2 separate regions of the Homo sapiens genome follow, and region 2 is linked to region 1. The links are contacts of gene promoters, found by promoter capture Hi-C in human tissues and cell types (Jung and others, 2019). All regions are on one chromosome and are shown on one strand. The core of a region is centred on a gene start or on the middle of the fragment in contact, and the rest is flanking DNA. Distances in the headings are between cores, read along the strand shown. Region 1 holds the start of IPCEF1 (interaction protein for cytohesin exchange factors 1). Region 2 has its middle 110 kb from the start of CNKSR3.

Region 1 (6,957 bases), core at 1,203-3,702:
TGTCTACCATCACTTCTACCATCTGTCACCTCCACCGTCACCTCCAACCACCATCTCCACCACCACCTCCACCACCACCTCCACCATCTCCTCCACCACCACCTCCACCATCTCCTCCACAACCACCTCCACCATCTCTACCGTCACTTCCACCATCACCTCTACCACTCCAATCACCATTTCTACCATCTCCATTACCACCTCCACCATCGCCTCCACAACCACCTCTACCATCTCCACCGTCACTTCCACCATCACCTCCCCTACGACCACCACTTCCAACACCACCCCCTTTATCTCCACCTCCACCTCCACCACCATGTATCGCCAACCCTTTCACTTTACTGACCTGGGGATTTTTCTGATCCCCGTTCTACACACCCTTTCTTTACTCCACACCTTCATATTCTCCTCTCCTCCTCCACTCTGATCTTTTCTAACATTCACTTTTTAAAGTGCCTGAGTAACAGAGATAAAGCAATGGCTTTCCTACCACATTCATTTTATGAATTATGCCAGTTATTCATTCATTCAACAAATATTTACTGAGAGCAGGCACTGTTCTGAGCACTTGGGAGCACAAGTAACTCCTCCATTTGCAGGATTCTCTTTAAGGCTAAAAAGCTTATTTTTTAGGATTTTTCTTCACACACACACACACACACACACACACACACACACACACACACACACACCATTTGCCACATTAGACCTACTTGCAAATTGTTAACCTGTACTGCAATTATCAGCTCACACTGCAGAGCCTCCAAGCTGGATGGAAAGCAGAAGTGAGCTGTTCAAAAGGATGCACGAGTCAAAAGGAAAGTCTCAGGCAATAGTGATGAAGTAATTTCTTATCTCTTATTGCCACAGCAAACTACCGCAGGAAAGAACTTCCTATTTCCATACTCTGATGATGTATATTTGCTTAACACAGCTTGCCTGAAATAGTTCATACATGGACCCACTCCAGAAAAGACACTTGATTTATAAAAAGAGGAATGGAAGGAAATTATAAGGTAAATTAAAGAATGAGTTCATCAACACATACACAAACTTACACCCTTTTCTTCCTTGCTTGCATGATGTGAGCAGAAAGAAATGTGTGTTCTTTCCATTTCTGTTTCTTTTCTTTCTTTCTTTCTTTTTTTTTTTTGAGATGAACTCTTGCTCTGTCACCCAGGCTGAAGTGCAGTGGCGCAATCTCAGCTCACTGCAACCTCCGCTTCCCGGGTTCAAGCAATTCTCCTGCCTCAGCTTCCCAGGTAGCTGGGATTACAGGTGCATGCTCCCACGCCCAGTTAATTTTTGTATTTTTAGTAGAGACGGGGTTTCATCATGTTGGCCAGGCTGGTCTCGAACTCCTGACCTCAGATGATCCACCCGCCTTGGGCTCCCAAAGTGCTGGGATTACAAGCGTGAGCCACCGCACCCGGCATTCTATTTTCTATTTTCTTTTCTTTCTTTTTTTTTTTCTTCCTGTAGAGATGAGGTCTCATTATTTTGCCCCCAGGCTGGTCTCAAACTCCTGACCTCAAGTGATCCTCTCGCCGTGGTCACCCAAAGTACTGGGATTACAGGTGTGAGCCATTGTGCCCAGCCCTCGGTTTCAATTTTCTACATAAAATAAATAACTCGATAGAAATTAGACTTTATCAAGGACAGCACTAGGAACACATAGGCCACTCAAGACTAATAGAGCCCACTGCTGTAGTCAAAGATGCTTCAGTGGGTTATAATTCTGACTTCTATAATTAAATACTTTCACATATACCCCAGCAAAGAAAAATCAAGTGCCCCAGACACCCTTACTAAAAGACTCTGAACCAACAACACCTAGCTTTCATTTTTATACCAGAGATATTTTGGCAAGCCTGAGACCTTTATCAAAGTGTAAAATGTCCCCCAGCTGCCTCCATGCAAAGGAAGCTCCCTTGCAAAGAACACACTTTCTCGAAAGAGGGCGGCCCCAGAGTGCTTCCCCAAATGAACTCCTCAGGACCCAAATACATGCTGAATTGTGCTTTTCTAAATCAAACCTGTGGTCTGCAGTCTAAACACCTATCAAGACAACACCCATTTAAGAAACATAAAAGCAGAGTGAGTACACAACTCTCTCCTCTTTCAAAGCTTTCACAGAATTAAAGAATCTTTAGCACCTGGCTTCCCAGATTACAGAGAGCTGAGTGAATATTACATCCCCAAAGTCATATTTCCTACCTCACTACTCTAAGGAGAGTGCTAGGGTATCCATTGCTTTGCCATCTTGATCTGTCAAGCAGTTACCTCTCATACATCAGCCAAGAAGTGACGTTACTTACATGCAATACAAAGAGAGTAAATCCAAGAGCAGTCTTATTCCTGGATTCAGAAGCCTCATAGTACTCTGAGGCCAAGCTTGAGGATTCTACTTAAAGCAGCCTCAGCTCTGGAAACTCAGTCAACCCAGAACTAACATTCAAAGCTGATCAGAGAGTAAAGCTCTTTCGAAAGAAGAGGAAGTATCATCTCCACTTCCTCAATCCTAACGTTCTTCCTTCTCATTGTTATGAAACCCTTCCTTGATGCCCATATCCAGGACACAGTACATGTAAGGCAAGCACACCCCATCTGCCTGAGTTCATTGATCACTAAGCACTGCCCAGTGTATTCATTTGCCGAGCACATTGGTGGAACAGTTCATGGTTCTGCTTTCCTGTTTTGGAGGCAAGGATGTTCATTTACAGGCATGGAGGGTGAGATGATCTGCAGAGTCATTCTCAGCATTTTTGGGTGAAATGCCACTTCAACCTCTTTAGGTTCAATCTTCTTTCAGATTTCCCTCTTTCCTCCTTTCCTAATCGTTCATAATGCTCTAATAAAGAGAGGGTACAGACACATTTGTAAAACGTATTTTAGGATAAAAATAAGTCTTAGCCTGCCATCTTTTGCAGTAGACATAGAAGAGTCTCTAACCACAAAACTTTTCTTTCCCACATTGGAAAAGGAAAATGGCAGGCTGAAAGTCAGAGATATTCCATCTCATTACAAATTCCTGCCCTCCCAATCTCCCTTTCAACACCAGCTTCTTGTTTCTCTATACCTTCTAGGGAAATGAATACAGCTGGGCGTGGTGGCAGATGCCTGTAATCCCAACCACTCAGGAGGCTGAGGCAGGAGAATTGCTTGAACCTGGGAGGCAGAGGTTGCAGTGAGCCGAGATCGCACCACTGAACTCCAGACTAGGAGACAGAGCAAGACTCCAACTCAAAATAAATAAATAAATAAATATGTATGTGTATATATATATATAATATATATATATAATATATATATTATATATATATTATATATATATTATATATAATATATATATTATATATATATTATATATATAATATATATATTATATATATTATATATATATAATATATAAAATATATATATTATATATATAAAATATATATAATATATATAATATATATATAAAATATATATAATATATATAATATATATATAAAATATATATATAAAATATATATATATATAAAATATATATATATAATATATATATAAAATATATATATATAATATATATATAAAATATATATATATAATATATATATAAAATATATATATATATATATATATATATATATAGAATATATAGAATATATAGAAACCTAATCCCCAATGTGATTGTATTTAGAGGTGGACCTTTGGGGAGTGATTAGGTCATGAGGACAGTGCCCTCATGAATGGTATTAATTTTCTTATTAAAGAGAACCTGGAGATCTGCCCACCCCTCCACCATATGAGGACATGGCCAGAAGACAGTCACCTAGGAACGAGGAAGCAGGTCCTCACCAGACAATGAATCTGCTGGCGCCTTGATCTTGGATGTCCAGCCTCCAGAACTGTGAGAAATAAATGTCTTTTGTTTGTAAGCCACCCAGGCTACGGTGTTTTGATATAACAGCCTGAATGACTAAGACAAAGATAAAATGTAAACTAAATCTGTGGAGGAGTGAAAAAATGAAAGAAGATGCTGTACATTTTGAGCAGGAACAAAATGAAGGTTCTCTCAGCGGCTTCTTGTTTGTGTACACTTCTATTTCTGGAAGTGCTGCCTCATCTTCTCCCTATATTGAGTTGTCTTCTAGTTCCCTGCTTTACGTAGAAAAAAAAATGGTACTAGGTGATATTAAAGGAATTTAGTGGTATCAACAGCATGGCCTGGCTTCTCACCAGACATTTAGATGCCATCATCAAAGATATCCTCAAAAGACATGTTATTTACCTTTATGGGGCCAGAATAGAGCCACTTAAATTCTTTGAGCAAAGATGATTTGTAGAATTAGAATAATCCTCAAAACGGCCGGACTGTCAGTTCAAGATGACGGGCTGACCACAGATTTGCTCCCTCCCTCCCCAAAGACTCCGTTAAAATGAGAAAAGTATAAAAAGTTTATAGGGCCGGGCACGGTGGCTCACACCTGTAATCCCAACACTTTGGGAGCCCCAGGCTGGCAGATCATGAGGTCAGGAGATCGAGACCATCCTGGCTAACATGGTGAAACCTGTCTCTACTAAAAATACAAAAAATTAGCCACGCCTGGTGGCACGAGCCTGTAATCCCAGCTTCTCAGAAGGCTGAGGCAGGAGAATCGTTTGAACCTGGGAGGCGGAGGTTGCAGTGACCTGAGATCGCGCCACTGCACTCCAGCCTGGGTGACAGAGCGAGATTCCGTCTCAAAAGAAAAAAAAAGATATAAACCCACAATAACCCAAAAAAGGAGGAAAAGCATCAGAACTTGGGAGAGCACAACAGATTTCTGGCAGCCTGAAAGCCGATGGAGGAGCAATAACAGATGGAGGCAGGCAGGGGAACCACAATATCTCATTAGTTAGGAGAACACGGCGTTGGAGGAAATTGCCCGTGTGCGGTGCTGAATCCCTGAGAGGACCGGAACTCAAGCCAAAAGAAGCTAAGAGAGCTAAATGAGTGATAGGGTGACAGGACTGAAAACAGGAAGAGTAATTCAAAGTCTGTAAGAACTCAGCCCCTCCCATACCCCTCTTTCAAATCTCTCTGTCCGCCCAGCCTCTGCACAGCAAACACACACAATTCCAACCCCGGGCAGCATACCGAGGATTCGTCTCTACACATAGTGAAATCATGCAGAGAATACAGGCATTGTATGTGGATATGAGCACTCCACAGTCAGAACTCCACATTCTGGCAATAAGAGCCTCATCTAGCATGTGCTGGATGATGGATGATGTGCTTTTTTTTTTTTTTTTTTTTTTGAGACAGAGTCTTGCTCTGTCACCCAGGCTGGAGTGCAGTGGCATTAATTATCTCGGCTCACTGCAACCTCCGCCTCCAGGGTTCAAGTGATTCTCCTGCCTCAGCCTCCTGAGTAGCCAGGATTACAGATATGTGCCACCACACCCAGCTATGTTTTGTATTTTTAGTAGAGACAGTGTTTCACCATGCCGGCCAGACTGGTCTCAAACTCCTGACCTCAGGTGATCTGTGCACCTTGGCCTCCCAAAGTGATGGGATTACAGGCATGAGTCACCACGCCTGGCCTAGATATGCTTCTAATCAGTATCCTTAGAGACAGTCCTGAAGATATTGTATCCATTAAAAAGAACAGGATGCTAAGAAAGATAGATAATCTGAAAACAAGAAAGACCCCTTGGATATTGCAAATATAATTGTTAAATAAAGATTTTGATAGGTTGGGTGATAAATTCAAGTGAAATTTTCAGGAAATATTATTTGATGACATAGTCAAAGAAATAACATAAAGGATCCCCCTGAAGTCCAAGAATATTTAGATTAAAAAGTCTCATCGAGTGCCTAGGATGAAGAATTTCAAGTCACTGCAAAATTTCCAAACTCCGGAAATAAAGAGAAAATCTTAAAATCTCCCAAACACAGAAAATAAGTCACTTTCACAGAAACAAGGAATCAAAGGGCTCCAGATTTCACAGAAGTAGCATTAAGGGTTAGAAGGTCAGCGAGCACAGCCTTCAAAGTTCTGAAGGATTTATATTTCACTCTAGAATTTTGTGTTCATTCATCCAGTGTATTAGTCCATTTTCATACTGCCATAAAGAACTGCCAGAGACTGGGTAATTTCTAAAGGAAAGAGGTTTAATTGACTCTTATAAATTAAAGAGGTTTAATTCAGCATGGCTAGGGAGGCCTCAGGAAACTTACAATCACAGTGGAAGGTGAAGGGAAGCAAGGCGCCTTCTTCACAAGGTGGCAGGAAAGAGAAGTGCTGAGTAATGGGGTAAGAGCCCCTTATAAAACCATCAGATCTCATGAGAACTCACTCTCACAAGAACAGCATGGGGGAAACCACCCCCATGATTCAATTTCCTCTACCTGGTGTCTCCCTTGACACATGGAGATTATGGGGATTACAATTCAAGACGAGGTTTGGGTGGGGACACAAAGCCTAGCCATAGCATTCAGCAAATATTTTTGAGCACTGTGTCTAGGCAGTGAGGACGCAGCAGTGAACCAAATAAAGTCCTGCCCTCAGGGAACTTCTTTTCTCATGCTCAGATCAGGATGGTGTACTCTCTACACAAACAAAGAAAGTAAAATATAATGTGTTAGGTAGAAGTAAGTGCTAAGGAGGAAAAATAAATCAGCAGAGGAAATATATAGAGTCTAAGGAGAGGCTAAAAATTAGATGGGGAGGCCAGCAAAGGACTCACAAAGGTGACCTCTGAGTGACAGCCTGGAGGAAGTGAAGGCGTGAGCTGTGTAGACAGCTAAGGGAAGAGAAATCCGCAGACAGAGCCCCAAATGCAAACATCCTGCCACCCCCAGAGCCTTTTGGTGCCGCAGGAACAGCATGGGGGCAGGTGTGGCTGGAACAGAGCAGAGCGGGTCAGAGATGGAGAGGGGAGCCGGGGAACCCATGATTATGGTTAGGTCCTATGGGGATCGTT
Region 2 (6,957 bases), core at 2,050-4,549, 260 kb after region 1:
CTGAACTCATCTCTGAGCCTTTGCTTACTTTACTCCCTCAATCCGGACTGTCCGTCAGCCATTCCTTCACTTCTCCCTTTAAGACCAAGTTCATATGGCTTTCCTTCCAGCTTCCTCAACCAGAATCAGAAATGTTAGCACTGGAACTTCTACTCTATTGCTCACACCCTTAATTACCAAATGAGGGACTGAGGCCAGTGAAGTTAGGTGACTTGTCTAGGACCACATAGCTGCCCTGGAATTCAAATCGAGTGGCTTGCAATCCTACCTTCTTTTAATCATATCCACTTCAATCTTGACTCACTTTGTTTCTCTCAACTCAATATCTGGATAGAGTTGTTTCATGTGGATAGATGTGTCATTTCCACCATTTGGTAAAACATCCGGGCACAGGATTATGGGTGGATATGATGCAGTGAAAGACACATGGCATCTGGAGTTAAACAAACCCAGACTCAAGAGCATCCCACGGTCTAACTGTGTGACCTCGGGAGAGTTATGCAAACTTCTGAGCCTCTATTTCCTCATCAGTAAAATAGTAAAACACAAGTGGGGCCAGTGAAGTGCCAGGAGGTTGGACAAGCTATCAGAACCTCAAAACGACGTGCTGCGTGGACAAGGGCACGTGTCTCACACTCACTGGCCTAGAGTGGGGTGGCCATATCTGCATGGTCCCCTTTCAGTTCTAAACAGTTCCTTGACTCAGGGATTCAGGGTAGTGTCTACTAAAGTAAAACACCAGCTTGTTTTCAAGAAGGGAAATGTTGATGCTGCCTCTGCATAGAGTCATAGGGAAGAACAACAGATAGCCTGCCAAAGATATGGTCCAAAACATAAAAATAAAACATGTCAGCTCACTGCCAAAGTGACTTCAAAATAGTCAGGATCTTAAGTAGTTCAAAACCCTAAAGACTGATCTTGTGGTCAAGGGCATCAACCTCACAGTGCCGCTGTTTCAGTCCTCTTCCCCTGACCGAGGGCCACGTTTCCTCTTGACCAGATGTGATATCCTATGACCCTTACCTCTGTGTCCCTACGCATGGAATTTTATTTTTAATCATTTGAAAGCAGAGTAAGCACAAAGCCTGCTCACTGAACCCTGGGTCAGACCATGTCATATATCTACTTTAAAAAAAAAAAAGTACTCTCTTTTATTAAAAAATAGAAAAGGAAGCCCTAAGAATGTTGTATGTTTTCTGTGTTTATATTCACATTGTGAAATGGGTAAAATAATACTAAACCCTTAATGGTGGTAACCTCAGGAGGGTGTGTAGAGATGAAATGATTGTCTTTCTTTACCTCTTAGAACTCTGAATGATACCAATGAGCATGCAGTTGTTCTGGTATTTTATCAAATAAATCAAATCATTACTTTTTAAAAAGAAAAAAAAATTTTCCTTTCAGTTGCTAATAAAACAGATATTGGTTGCTGGGAATTTTTTTTTTATCTTCAACTAGACTCCACTTCCCCCAGAAAGGTACCAAAAGCAGTTTAGGAGAAGATGGACAACTTGATCTCAGGTTTACTAAATTAGCAATAAACTTCAACTTCTCAAAAGTCTATGGTAAGAGTATTCAAGTCCCCTTTGCTTCTTGATTTTTAAACACAGTTATGTGCAGATTCACTTTTCCCAATCAATAAACAACGTCTCTTTATTACCTAAACTGGATAATTCCAGAAGTCAACAGGCAGCCAAATGGCAGTTTCTCATTTCTTTGAGATCACTGCTGATTGCTCCCTCTCCGGCTTCCTTGGAGCCTGTTGTGGACACTGTTGGCGTCTTGCCCAGTTCCTTCACCAGGCAGTGCCTCCACCCCACTGCTGTGGTGAGTGGCGGCTGCTGGTGGCTCACAGCTGCCTCCTTCTCGGAAGAACCGTGCTCAGCTCCTGGGAGGTTGCTGCCTCCAGGAGGTGATGTGCCTCCGGCAAGGCCCTGGCGGAGCTGCAGAGCACAACCCCCCTGCTGGATGGGGGCCACGTATGGGGCGCCCCGCACGTTGCAGAGCCACCCTTGGGCTTCCGCAAAAGCCGCGTCTTTGCTTCTTCTCTTGCTGTTTCCTCACTTCGGTAGAGGCTTCTCTCTCAATAAATCACTTACATGAGATAAGTAAATCACTCTCTTCAGGCCTAAAACAGCTGGGCTTTTGGTTACCCTAATGAGGAGCATTTTCATATAAAGTTATAGTTGATTAAAACTTAAATTCTTTAAAACTTAAAAATTAATATGGAAAAAAAATAGCTCACTATCCATCCCACCTTAGCCTCCAGTTCACGTGTGAGGAAATCTAAAATGTTCTTCAGATTCACAGCAACATCCAAGCTCCAAAGGCAGAGAAATAAGGATAAAATGCAATTATTATGCCTGGCCTACATAGTGGGTATTTAATAAACATTTCACAACTAAAAAAATTTTTGCCAAAATTTACTTGATTGGAAATAATGCCCAATTCAAGAATCAAAATGGCTGATTGTTGAATGTTTAAAAATGTTTTTGTGACTTTTACATAATTTTTTTGGAACCCAGAATACCCACTTAACATGTAGGAGTAACATATAGGTTTACGGAATAGGAAGAAAGGAGCTTGGGCCACAGTCCAGTCTTCAACTAGCCACCGTCAATTCCAACACAACTCCATCTCCATAATCCTGTACTGTGGCCCACAGGAAAGAGTGGAGCCTTACTGGGTACCAAAAGAATACTTTGCCTCTCTGAATGCACCTGGAGGGCAAGATTAACATTTGTATAAAATAATAATGACAGACGGGTGTGGTGGCTCATGCCTGTAATCCCAGCACTTTGGGAGGCCGAAGCGAGCGGATCACCTGAGGTCAGGAGTTCAAGACCAGCCTGGCCAACATGGCAAAACCCCATCTCTACTAAAATTACAAAATTTTAGAATACAAAAAATTACAAAATTTTAAAATACAAAAATTAGCCGGGCGTGGTGGTACATGTCTGTATTCTCAGCTACTCAGGAAGCTGAGGCAGGAGAATCACTTGAACCCAAGAGGCAGAGGTTGCAGTGAGCTGAGATCATGCCACTGCACTCCAGCTTGGGGGACAGAGTGAGACTTTGTCTCGAGAAAAAAAAAAAAGAAAGAAAGAAATAATAATGACAATACTACACAAAAATATATTGACATTTTAATTGACCTTTTGGGAGTCTAGTTGATAGATCAATAGATTAATAAAGTAAAATGAGAAATAAAGGGAAAATATTGGCATGTTGTTCGATTATTCAAATAGAATCTATTTTTTATTCATGGGATAAGTTGGAATTTTCCTTTTGTCAGGAGAATCTATTCTATAGCACAATCTTGATCTAGAATAATGACATACAAATAGACTTTTAGGATAGAAAACCAAATGATATCCTTACCAACTGTGGATTCAAAACCAAAAGGAAAATATATTGCATCACTTTTCTTGAAGAATGCAAGCAAAGGATAGGCATGTAGTTTAATCATCTCTGCAATGTATTAAGAGGTTAATCCTGTTTTAAGTAATCTATGAACTCTAACCATAAAACACACCATATTTAAAAATAAATATCCATGACTAGAGCATCTAAAGAGCATGTCTCCATTTAAAGAGGTCAGTCCCGGAGAACATCCGCTTTTTCCAGTGAGCTTTCCATTGTTTAAAAATGTAGGAGAGCTTCTTTTAGAATTACCTTCACAGACCACAGCATATTCTTTTGAAATTTTTCAGTGGTGAAAAATCCTTACTCTTTGAGGTTGGCCTCGACCTTCAAAAACAGCCAACACCTATTTTCAGACAAGTCTGAGGAAAACGGAATGATAGGGTTGGATAGTTAAGGCAATGACACATGTGAGGTAATTTACAAAAATACTCAAGCATAGAGAAGTTAAAACAAAGATGGCCGCTATATCCTGCCTTTCACATCCTGGCCCAGTTGTCTATCTCTGAGCATCTCTATATTGGTTTTTTTTCAGCTGGACAGTAAACTCTATTGAGTTTTCATTGTATCCCTGAAGTTCAGAGCTCAGAACTAAATCAAATAACATGATAATAATACAACTGTAATCGCTCTTGGCGGTATTAGCTTGAGGTTTGTCTCCTTGTAGCCTATGTGCTTATCAATTACATTGTCATAAATGCATGATAAGAGGATGGGCCCTTGAGCCAGGCTGCTTGGCCTGAAACCCCTGCTCCAATACTTATTATTAAACATGATTACTTAATCTCTCTAGGTTTCCATTTCAGCATCTGTTCAACAGAGATAATAATTGGAACTTTCTCATGTTGTTGCGCAGAGTCAGTAACAATATATTTCAAATATTTAGAACACTGCCTGCTATATAGTCCACACTAAGTAAGTATTAACCATAATTATTTTGTGTGGGTTTTGTGTGTAACAGGCAAAGAATGAGGAACTAGTCTTCAAAAATAAACAAACAACAAAATAAAAACCAGCTTTCATTGATTCAAATGATACACCACCATCCTAACCAAAGTTGCAGGAATATTTTTTTTTTTTTGAGATGGAGTCTCTCTCTGTCACCCAGGCTAGAGTGCAGTGAGGCGATCTCGGCTCACTGCAACCTCTGCCTCCCAGGTTCAAGCGATTCTCCTGCCTCAGCCTCCCGAGTAGCTGGAATTACAGGCGCACACCACCACGCCCAGCTAAATTTTTGTATTTTTAGTAGAGATGGGGTTTCACTATGTTGGTCAGGCTGGTCTCGAACTCCTGACCTTGTGATCTGCTCGCCTCAGCCTCCCAAAGTGCTGGGATTACAGGAGTGAGCCACCGCACCCAGCCAAGTCATAGGATCTTAAGAGGATTGAAAGCCATATAGTGATTCACAGGGCTCTAAGTATATAGGACAAAGACAGCTACTGAGAGGCGTTTTAGAGTTCCATAGCTGTGGATCTCAATGTGATTTTGGAAACCTCCAAAGAGATGAAATTATCGCTGTTAACAGAAATTGTTGGCTGTTATACTGTATTTTATAGAACGTAAGATGCCACCAATTGAAACACACATCCCAGCTTTGGAAATAATAATTTGAAAAAGTGTGTGCCTCCAAATCAATGAAATATGGTCACAGAAGTTTAGATGGCGACATCCAGCTTCTAGCTTTGGTGAATTCTTTCGCCTTCTAGGTGGAGCCTCACTCATGAAAAGGGAAACTTTCCCAGGATTCCATTATAAAGGTAACAACTGAGCTTTGAGTTCAGCACAGCGAGCAGGGGAAAGCCCCAGTGGGAGACCATATTTTATATAGGAGGTGAAGAAATGCAGAAGAATGTGGAAATTCTTGAGTATGCATAAATGTTTCCTAATGCAGGTGTTAAAAAACTCCCCAAGTGAATTCTGAAATTCAGAATCTTTTTCCATCTATGGAAAGAACACATTGTTCCAGTCAAAAGCGAAACAACCAGGCAAAAAAGAACTCCCAGACCTCTCTTTTCCATGCTGCCCTTTGATTTTCCGGGAGCTCCAGTCTTGGACTACAACCACAGTTACTGAAACCTGGACAGGCTGCTCCTCACCTAACGATAGCAGAGCCAAGACTCGCTGCAAACAGCATTAACAAATGCAAACGAATCAGCCCTAAAGGCTCAGATCCCATTTTTAACAATTTGTTTTTATATTTCAACTCAACAAATATTAGTCAAAGACTCTGGACTATGTGTAGGTTATTGTTTAAAAGAAAAATGAACCCAGGTGCAGAGAGTTTTGTGCCAAGGGCTAAAAAAGAGACTCTGAATTAGGATCACCTGGCACTCCATCCTGTGTAGGGGGATGAAGGGAATATGACAGAGGAAGGCAGGGCAGGGAGCCGGGGAGAGAGAAAAAGAGAGAGAGGCAGAGGGAGGTTGACATCTGTAAACATAATTCAATTTTCTTAGTGTCTTGGACTGCTCTAAAAAGAATTTTACACAGAAGTGTAGGAAAGACTGTCTTCTGATAATCCACTGGAATCTATTCACCACAAATTTGAAAGAAACTTCGAAGATTGGCCAAAGGTTCTTTGCACCTCACATGTACTCAACCATCACCACCTGCAGCCTATAGCCAATTGGTAAATTCATAACACACCCCTTCTGTTAAAATGTGACTCTTGGATCCATCTCCTCGGCTAGATTTGGGGGCATTTTGGCATAAAGTTTAATTTTTTGAGCAAGTTCCTGAGTGAAACTACCACTTTTTTGCAGATGAAGAATATAATTCAAGACGTTCATTTTTTTAGTATAAAACCTGGAAGATAGGCCAGGCGCAATGGCTCACGCCTCTAATACCAGCACTTTGGGAGGCTGAGGCAGGTGGATCACCTGAGGTCAGGAGTTCAAGACCAGCCTGACCAACATGGTAAAACCCCATCTCTATTAAAAATACAAAAATTTAGCTGGGCGTGGTGGTGTGCGCCCATAGTCTCAGCTCCTCGGGAGGCTGAGACAGGAGAATAATTGCTTGAACCCAGGAGGCGGATCTTGCAGTGAGCCAAGATCATGCCACTGCACTCCACCCTGGCCAACAGAGCGAGACTCCATCTCAAAAAAATTTAAAAAAAAAGATAAAAAAATAAAATAAAAAAACCTGGAAGATGAGTAGCCATATAATTCATCAGTATTTTTTAAATTAGATTATAAAGTGTATCTTATTTTATCCACTAAAAATAATTTTTTTAGGAAAAAATAATAGTTATATCTCAGTACTTTCATAATTATTCAATAATACTGTTCATACCCTACTTCAAGTAATTCTAAATGGTTTAATGTCTTTCACTTATAATTTGGATCAAATACTACTGGAGTTAGATCATTGAACATCTAAGACTTAGAAATCTTGTGTTTATACAATAATTAAGGAAATAATATTGGCATTTAATACAAGAGCAATTGGCAGGAATTTGTCAAGAAACTGTATCAGAACTTCATTTACCTAACTTAAATTTTCCTTGTTTTTTCATCTATATATTTTTCAAAA

The links. The method cuts DNA at HindIII sites, captures the fragments that hold promoters and counts their contacts. A contact is called where the count stands out against the background at its distance.
Region 2: a fragment that was not itself captured here is called in contact with the fragment with the promoter of IPCEF1 in region 1 in 1 of the 25 tissues and cell types used here (thymus).

What each region holds. Positions count from the first base shown.
Region 1 is chr6:154,354,351-154,361,307 of GRCh38, forward strand. IPCEF1 (interaction protein for cytohesin exchange factors 1) reads right to left here and starts at 2,453. Exons shown (of 12, transcript NM_001130700.2): 1 at 2,322-2,453. It overlaps LOC105378067 (a long non-coding RNA gene), which reads right to left. Exons shown (of 3, transcript XR_007059823.1): 3 at 5,543-6,957. The HindIII fragment of the contact is 7,632 bases long and covers 1,378-6,957 here.
Region 2 is chr6:154,613,926-154,620,882 of GRCh38, forward strand. No RefSeq gene overlaps it. Among named protein-coding and RNA genes, the nearest start is that of CNKSR3, 110 kb to the left of the region's middle. RefSeq lists enhancers at 1,437-1,943, 3,836-4,005. The HindIII fragment of the contact is 7,014 bases long and covers 1-6,806 here.